2 separate regions of the Homo sapiens genome follow, and region 1 is linked to region 2. Evidence: promoter capture Hi-C in human tissues and cell types (Jung and others, 2019). All regions are on one chromosome and are shown on one strand. The core of a region is centred on a gene start or on the middle of the fragment in contact, and the rest is flanking DNA. Distances in the headings are between cores, read along the strand shown.

Region 1 (4,722 bases), core at 1,163-3,662, 53 kb after region 2:
ACTTGTATGCTGAAGACCATACAACATTGCTGAAAGAACTTAAAGACCTAAATAAATGGAAAGACATCCCATGTTAAAGGGTTGAAAGACTTCATATTGGGAAGATGGCAGTACTTCTCAAATGGACCTCCAGACGCAACACAATCCGTGTCAAGATCCCAAATGACTTTTTTGCAGAATTTTGCAAGCTGATCCTAAAATTCATACAATCCAGGGAAATATAAGGACCCAGAATAGCCACATGAGCACACACACACAGATCTTGAAAAAGAAGAATGAAGTTGGAGGACTGACACATTCCAATTTCAAAACTTAACTACAAAGCTGCAGGCCAGGCATGGTGGCTCACACCTGTAATCCCAGCACTTTGGGAGGCCGAGGCAGGCGGATCACCTGAGGTCGGGAGTTCGAGACCAGCCCGACCAACATGAAGAAACCCGGTCTCTACTAAAAATACAAAATTACCTGGGCGTGGTGGCGCATGCCTGTAATCCTAGCTACCCAAGAGGCTGAGGCAGGAGACTCACTTGAACCCGGGAGGTGGAGGTCACCGTGAGCCGAGATTGTGCCATTGACTCCAGACTGGGCAACAAGAGCAAAACTCTGTCTCAAACAAACAAGCAAAAAACTGCAGTAAGTCAGTGTGGTTAATTTTTGTTTTATGAGGTATGTTTATGTTCACAGAAGCTTCCACGTATGGTTAAGTTACTGCTAGCCATAGTAGTCTAGTGCTGACTTCTAGGAATATTCGTACTACTGACTGCAGAATTACCTGGCATCCAAACAGAAAGACACTGGCCAGGCACCATATTGCTTTCTGTTTGGGTCCTACAGTGCCCAGTACCAGAAGGATGTGGTAGAAGGAACAAGTAAAGTGAACAGGGCCAGAAGCTCATCTGTAGAAAAGTGTAAGCAAAGGATTTGGTTTGCTCCTCAGTACCTGGTCAAAACCTGTATTAGTGGTCCTTCCAAATTCGATAATTGTGAAATTCTGTGACACTCTTAATACTGAATTATGAAGCTGAACTGAGCTTTCCTAAATTATATTAAAAAGCTAATCTTGATAAACTATGCTAGAGGAAAAACTGAATTATCTGTTATCTCTGTGGAATATGTTGCAAAATCATTTTCATATGAAGAAGCAATCAGCATAGAGCCAAGAAAGGTGGGGGAAAGTATTATGGGCTGTGCCAAGCACCTGAATAATAGAATGATGTTATTTTTCTGGATTTTGTGGTATCTGTAGTATTCGTCAGCTTTTTTAAATTAGTAATTTTTTGATTCACTTTTATTATTTTCCTACAGAAGGCCATTCAAACTGTGAAAGCTGCAAGCATCACAAAACTTGGATCTGCTTAGGCCAAAGGGGTGCTTGAGATTAGCAGAAAATAATTGCGTATATTTGGAAACATGTAAAAAGCCATTTTTAACATTTAATATATCTTATTGAGGTAAAACAAGGATTGGATTGTCAAATCAGACTGACAAGATTCAGAGCTTTCTTTTACCCAGTCACAAGAAAATAATGGCAGTATCCAAAACCACTAACCCAGGTCCCCAGGGCTTCCCCGAATTCCTTAGAACACATTCTGGCTTAGATCTCGCAGGTGAGGTCTCTGAGTAAGTTATGCCGGTGAACACTTACACAGATGGAGCTCTTTCAGTCAGGAACTATCTCCGTTTTATACTGAAATAATTACATGGTGGACACTGACATTTTCCACTGGGCCATTCCATGTATTAATATATCGATCAATTCCGGGTTTATTTACCTTAGGCCATCTAGACAGACCAGGTGTACCCTGCTAAAAAGCATTTCATAGACAAGGACTCCCCATTCTCTTTCCACCAGAATATACCTTGCATGTTTACAAGGAGATTTGATTTGGTCATTTCCACCTGGCCATCTCAGGATAGGAATAATTGGCTAAAAACCAGCTGCTGTCACTTAACTTCTAACTTTTCTCCCCTGTCTTTTTTTCTTACCAGATCCTTCTAAAAAAAATAATTCTCTAAAACTAGTGAATAATTGTGGCTGAGGTCTTTAAATGAAAATTACCATCATACCATTATAGAAGAGAACAATATTTTGAAATCATGGCACTTTTGGGGCTTTTACCCCTGGGTAATGCACCAGAGTAAGATTTAGGGAGCTGTGTATTTCTTGCATAAAGTGGGAAAAGTTTTAGTGTGAAAGGAGGAGTAGGAAAAAAGATACTAGGAAATAGCACATAAAAAATTAAAATCTGGGTATTGATTATCTTATCTTATATCCCTGTAAATTTCTGCATACCTCCAGTGGTATACATACCCCGGTCAAATATTTTTACATCACATACTTGTAGCAGAGAGTCTGGGACCACTAGTTCTAGAATCCAAGAACCCGAGTTTGAAGCCACCTTCATCTCACAGTTGTTGCCACTTAAACACTCTGACCTGTTTTCTCATCTGTAATATGGGGATGTGATAATAGAATCTGCCTCACAGGGTGGTTACCTAAATTAACTGAAGTAACTCATTTAAAGTTGGCACTCAAGCCAGGTGCAGCAGCTCACACCTGTAATCCCAGTACTTTAGGAGGCTGAGGCAGAAGGATCACTTGAGACCAGGAGTTCAAGACCACCCTGGGCAACAAACAAGACCTCATCTCTAATTTTGAAAAAAAAAAAAAAGTTTGCACTCAATAAATATTGGTAGTAATACATGAATTTCTTCTCTTCTTGCTGACATTCTTTAATGATTAGCAAAGATCAATTTGGTTCTAAGCAAATCTGTATGTTTTTTAAAGTCTGTCTTCCTTAAGATTGATGAAGTTGTTTTCTCTTGGCAAAGAATTTATTTCACTGTACAAAAATTGGTAAATATGAACACTATTGTAACCCTGTCACAGTGCCATTAATAAAACAGTAGTAGTATACATAGCATTATTTTAATAACGTAAATGTTCTCGGAAGAAAAATCTACTTGTTAATGGACTTTAGGAATGATATATGCCTATTTGGGTTTTAGGCATGCAATACCCATTATACTTACAAATCCTGGGTGATTATGCTAAAGACTTTTGTGTAGAAGCCTGTAGTTTAGTTAGATGAATGTGCTAAAAGTTTCAATCATAAATTATGCTAGATTCAATTTCATTCAGGTTGTCATTTCTTTTATTCACATGCTGAAAATATAGTATTTTTTCTTTTCATCTATTATATAATATTGTCAGTGGGTATTAGAAAACCCAGAGAGTATATCACATAATGATGAATATCATTAAAATGAGAAATGTCCAAATTAGCCATGAATTGAGTTAGATGTCAGGGTATCCATCTCATGAAGTGAACTTAGGTTATCACTAATGATATAACCGAATTGCTCCAAGCTCATGTTGAAATCAGTGGGATGACTCGATGTAAACTAAAACTCCTTGTGAGTACATTATGTTGAGGGTTAATGTTTTAATAATGTTCTAAAAGTTGTACATGAGGTAAGGTTTCTGACCTGTGATCTCATTACTTTTTTCTTTCTTGAACTCTACATTATATGAAAAGCATGCATTTGACAAAAGATCAATAATTGTGATGTTCTTAGTAAAGTATAACTTTCCTCTTACAGACCAAATATAGTGGATGATGGGCAATTTACTGATTAAAAATGGAAAACAATTCCTTTAACATTTCTTACTAACCTAATTTGACTTGGTACTAGCTAAATTGTACTTTTTATATTATGTTATAAATAGGCTACTGGGTTGGCTATCTTATTTTCTATTATATGTGTAACAGAGTGGTGGAGTGGGATTTAAAACCAGACACCAAAATTCTTCTAATAACTGCATTCCTTTAGGAAAATACATTGGTAAGCCACCTAGATTCAAGATGAGTCACCAAGGACACAGGCAAAATCAGACAGATAAATGAGAGAATACTTACACAGCATTTTGTAATACTGTCACTACATTACAAATGAGCAAAGATTTGCACAAGTGGAGTAGGGAATGAGAAGCAGTGAAAACTGAGAAGAGGCCAGGTGTGGTAGCCTCACACCTATAATCCCAACATGTTGGGAGGCTGAGGTGGGAGGATCAATTGAGCCCAGAAGTTCAAGACCAGACCAGCCTGGGCAACACAGGGAGATCCCGTTTCCAAAAAAAAAAAAAAAAATTGAAAATTAGCCAGGCATGGTGGCACACACCTGTAGCTCCAGCTACTTGGGAGGCTGAGGTGGGAGAATCTCTCAAGCCTGGGAGGTCAAGGCTACAGTGAGCCATGTTCACATCTCTGCACTCCAGCCTGAGTGACAGAACCAGAACCTGTCTCAAAAATAGAAAATTTAAAAATTGAGAAGAGAGGAAAAGCCAAGCAACATGATAGACTGACAAAAGACTCAGAACGAAATTTCCAAATTTTGCATTTGAGGTTGCTTTTGCTGTTGTGATGTATGAAGCCTACATTTTCTGAATACTTTAGAGCAGTTTGCCAAAAAATGCTGTGTTTTGTCTTGTTTTGTTTTATTTTGCTTTGTCTAGAAATGTAGGAAAAAGGCTCACCATTCATCTTGTTTACATGGTACAGAGCAAGACAAATATGTAAAGAATGAGACGAAGAATGATGCTGAGAGAACCCATGAACTGAGCTCCTTAGGGAAAGGAAAGGCTCAGAGCCAAAAATGTCCTCGAGACTGTAAGCCCCTGGGGAGACCCTTGGACATTTTGAAGAAGGCATTAGATTTTCT
Region 2 (4,501 bases), core at 258-2,757:
TGGTCTCGAACTCCTAACCTTGTGATCCGCCCAGCCTCGGCCTCCCAAAGTGCTGGGATTACAGGCGTGAGCCACCAGGCCCGGCCCTTGGAAATCCTTTATTTTTAACTTAAATATCATCCTAAAGAAGTTAGTTACCTGGTTTTTCAGAACCAAGCAAATTAGGCACTGCACATTATTACAGAAAGGCATACCTAGGGCAATACATAACAGCTGACAAACTGAAACAAAGAGAAAAAAACAAACACTAATTTAAAAGGTTAGCTATTTAGGGCATCAGTAAATAGAACATTATCATATGACAGGGCCATTTATTCAATAAATATTTTTGAGTGCCTATTATGTTCAAGGCATTGTATTAAATACGGAAGAATTCAGTGAACAGTGAACAGAAAAATAGCAATAGCGGCAGCAAAGTTCCACTGGATGCGTATCACAAGCCAATGCTAAGTTCTTTATAGTGCATTTCATTCCAACCTGGGAACAACAGCAGGAGGTATGAGATGACTATTTGTATACCAGTCTTAGAGCTGAGAAAACTGAGGATTAAAGAGGTTAATTAACTTGTCTAAGATTGCATAGTTACTGAGTGACAAGAGATGGAGTTTGTGTTTTTGCAGGACTGTCCTCAAGTACTTGCTCTTATTCTCTACTTCCTCAGAATACACAGAACCTGTCCTCAGAACGCGTGTAGTTTGGTAGCAAAACAAGAAATAGACAGGCAATTAAAATACTGTGACTGGAGCTACAATAGAGGAAAACCCAGAACCCTATCTAGGCACAAAGGAGAGTCCAATTCTCACGGGACTTGTGGATGGAGTTGGGAGTATGTCCAAAAAATACTTTAAATGTTTCAAAAATTTAACACGAAGTACGAATACTGTTTTTAAAAAGCATAAAGGAGGAGTAACAGTTTTACTAAATGTCATTTTATGAAGTTCCCCTTAAAGGGATGAAAGAAAAAAAAAACCCCGTATAACTAAATAAAATCTTTGGAATTTTAAGCAGAAAACCTGGATTTATGGAGACATCAAAACCAAACACAACTTTTGGCATTACAGTATATGGGCAAAATACACGCCATATGATTGGATCCTTAAGGGCAGCACATCCTACCCGGAAAGCTGCCTACTTAACAATACCAAAGGCTTACTCAAAGAGGCACGTGAATCTTTCGCATGGAATACTTTTGGAACCCAGACCGAAGTGCCCAGGGGTTAATCACGGCGCCGGTCTTACAGCACCCTCAGCGGCTTCAGCCCTGAGACTCTGCAGGTGAAGGCTCGGGGGGTGTGGACGGGACCCCACACCGCGCCGCCCGCCGACTCACTTCTTGCGGACTTCTTCCAGCAACTGCTGTTTCAGGCGGTTGGTGCTCACACCGTCGAAGTTGTAGTTTCTCTCTTCCTTCATAGTGTCAGGCCAGAGACCTCCCGCGTCTTTCCCCTCAGCACCTTAGAGCACAAGACATTAAGGGCCACCCAGAAGCCAGTACGGCACGAGGCGGTGAACCCCAACCGCCCCCCGGTCGCACCTCCCGCGCCTGCCCGCAGAGGCACGTGGTGACGTCATAAAGCGATGCCCGCAGGCGGCAGGGGGTGGGGCGAGGGCAGCCGGGGAGACTGGAGAAGCCTACTCTGTGCGGTGGAGCGACCCTGGATAACAGCTCCAGGGACACTCCTTGCTCAAGACGCTGGGGTTAGACGTGCTCCGGCTACACAGCGGAGTGTCAGGGGGCCAAGAATATCCCTCTCCTTTTTCTTCCCTCCTGCTGGCTTTGGTTGCTTTCCTAAACATTGCCCCGGACGGCAAAGTCGGCTTCACTCTTAGCCCTTGTTAGGGAAACGCTGGATCCAAGATTAGCTGCGCCCTTCTTTGCTTCAGTTGAACAAGCACCAGAGTCGCTGATTTGGCAGTGTCGGAGCGGGAGGAACTGGTCTTAAAAAGGTACCTCCTGAACTCGGGAAGACTGCTAACCCTCCAGATTATTGTTTTGCATCTGTGTGCTGTTCATGAACATACCTCAGAGCTGCTCACTGCAACTTGAAATTTCATTATATTTTTAATCACAAAGTTTGCATCCTACCCTTGATACATCTGTGTTTCCTTGACAAAAAGAGACAAACTCTGTAAAATATTTGAAGAGATTTATTCTGAGCCAAATGAGTGACCAATGGCGGGTGACAGCCCTCAGGAGATTCTGAGAACACGTGCCCAAGGTGGTCAGGGTACAGCTTAGTTCTATACATTTTAGGGAGACATGGGACATCAATCAAATGCATGTTAAGATATACACTGGTTCCATCGGGAAAGGCAGGGCAATTGGAAGGGGTGGGGGACGGGGTGGCTTCCAGGTCACAGCTAGATTCAAAGATTTTCTGATTGGCAATTGGTTGAAAAGTTACTGACTAAAGACTTAGGAATGTCTTTAGAGAATAAAGGGGTTGTGGAGACCAAGGTTTTAGTGAGAATGGGATAATTGGTGTGGAAAACACAATTTGGTGTCAGAAGTGTTGTGAATACATAGTTTTCCAATTGAGTTTCTGGATGAGATTAACATTTCAATTGGTAGACTGAGTATAGTACATTGTCTTCCCCAATGTGGGTGGGCCTCAGCCAATCGACCGAAGACAGAATAGAACAAAAAGGCTGACCTCCCAGGAGTAAGAGGGAGCTCCTACAGCCAAACAGCTTGAGCTGGAACACTTTTCCAGCCTTGGGCTCAGACTGGGACTGCACATCAGTTTGCTTGCATCTCCAGCTTGTCAACTGCAGATCCTGAGACTTCTCAGCCTTCATAATTGTACGGGCAAATTCCTTATAATAAATCTTTTATACACACACTCCCTATTGGTTCTGTTTCTGTGAATTACCCTAATATAGGAGGTATGCTTATCAAAATTTTGTCTAGCTGTTAAGTCTGAAAGGGCAACTCACAACCAAGTAAACAGAATAGAATGAAGTGAAAAGGACTAGATTATCTGTTGACAAATCCAAATATACAGAGGATTTCTTTTTTGAGACGGAGTCTCATCTGTCTCCCAGGCTGGAGTGCAGTGGCACAATCTCAGTTTACTGCAAACTCCACTCCTGTGTTAAAGCAATTCTCCTGCCTCAGCCTCCCAAAGTAGCTGGGACTACAGGCACGCACCACCATGCCTGGCTTAATTTTTTTGTGTATTTTTAGTAGAGATGGGGTTTCACCATATTGCTCAGGCTGGTCTTGAACTCCTGACCTCGTGATCCACCCACCTCTGCCTCCCAAAGTGCTGGGATTATAGGCATGAGCCACTGCACCCGACCCAGAGGATTTCTTAAAAAGATCTGTTAGCAGGATCTCACTGTGGGAAATTAGGAGCAAAGGCAAGCAGAAAACAGGTTTGTCAACAACTACAGAAACCACAGATTTGTGTTTCTGGCAGAGATAAAGGACCTGAATTTACCCTCCTGCCTGAAACAACTAAAAAACTAAGAGGAACAAAAAAAGAACATTGAACATCAGGCAATAAGGGAAAACGATCACCAAGAGATGAGACACAAATGAGGCAAGCTCCCAAATTGGCCTGGGCCTGCCAGGGTACAAAGCAGAAAGGGAGAAAACAGGCAGAGGCTGGTGGTTGCCCTAAGTTGAGGAAACGGAGTTTCTCTAAGAGTCTAGAGAGAACAAGGCAGCTAGACTTTGCAGGGCAGATATTGGAGGGGAGAGCTGCACAGGGTGTTCCCAGACCAAACTGAGGGTTGGGTTGCTATTTCTTGTGACCCAGTAAGAACATGTAGATGAACTGGGGAGGAAGAGAGTTTTTATTTCTGGAACCAGTTACAGGCAGAAGCCCTGGAAACTATAACCAGACCAACTCAAAATTACAGTTTTCCAGACCTTCTAAGCTATATGTCTATGTGTAAGTGTGCATTCATCTATAGACATTAAGTGGTTAACTTTTTATAATCTACAACTAAGGTCTTGAGTCCTGAAGACCTTCCTCTGGAGCCTCAGTAAACTTAATCTAAATGGGTCCAGGTGCTAGGGTGATTACCCCTGTCTCCTGCTAAATCAGGGAGGTTTGGGGATTCCTTCAGAACCCCAAAAAACTTGTTTAATCCTAAATGGGTCCAGCTAAGAATTCCTTCTTTTTTTTTTTTTTTTTTTTTGTCATGCTTTGAGACCTAGTTCTTGGTGGGTTTTTATTACATTCCAGCCTTTGTATAAGGGCTTTGGTTTTTTTAGCTTTTAGTATTTAACTTAGCCACTCAAGTCAGTACTGAAACAGTTGTTATGGAGGCCTGTGTTAATGAGACCTGGCCTGCCACAAGGTACACTCTGCAGCAGAATACTGATGAATGCACACACATGGTGGGGCAAGTACTCAGGCTGGGGAAAGAACCATCACAAAGGATTAGAGGGGAAATCCTTACAGTTTACAGAGGTAGGAATAATACCTGCTACCACCCACCAGAATGGAAAACCTCTGAATTCACAGGGCATCAGGTACACAAAGGATTT

Evidence for each region. Contacts are between HindIII fragments. The study calls those that stand out against the background at their distance.
Region 1: a contact is called between a fragment that was not itself captured here and the fragment with the promoter of CCDC169 in region 2, in 1 of the 25 tissues and cell types used here (thymus).

Annotation. Positions count from the first base shown.
Region 1 is chr13:36,348,653-36,353,374 of GRCh38, forward strand. The region is part of intron 1 of SPART-AS1 (SPART antisense RNA 1); the gene reads left to right. It also overlaps a transcript of SPART not described here. Among named protein-coding and RNA genes, the nearest start is that of SPART-AS1, 4.6 kb to the left of the region's middle. The HindIII fragment of the contact is 6,788 bases long and covers 1-4,722 here.
Region 2 is chr13:36,296,307-36,300,807 of GRCh38, forward strand. It overlaps CCDC169 (coiled-coil domain containing 169), which reads right to left and starts at 1,508. Exons shown (of 8, transcript NM_001144981.3): 1 at 1,331-1,508. The coding sequence starts at 1,413. It overlaps CCDC169-SOHLH2 (CCDC169-SOHLH2 readthrough), which reads right to left and starts at 1,508. Exons shown (of 16, transcript NM_001198910.2): 1 at 1,331-1,508. RefSeq lists enhancers at 1,135-2,096, 2,097-3,059. The HindIII fragment of the contact is 10,512 bases long and covers 1-4,501 here.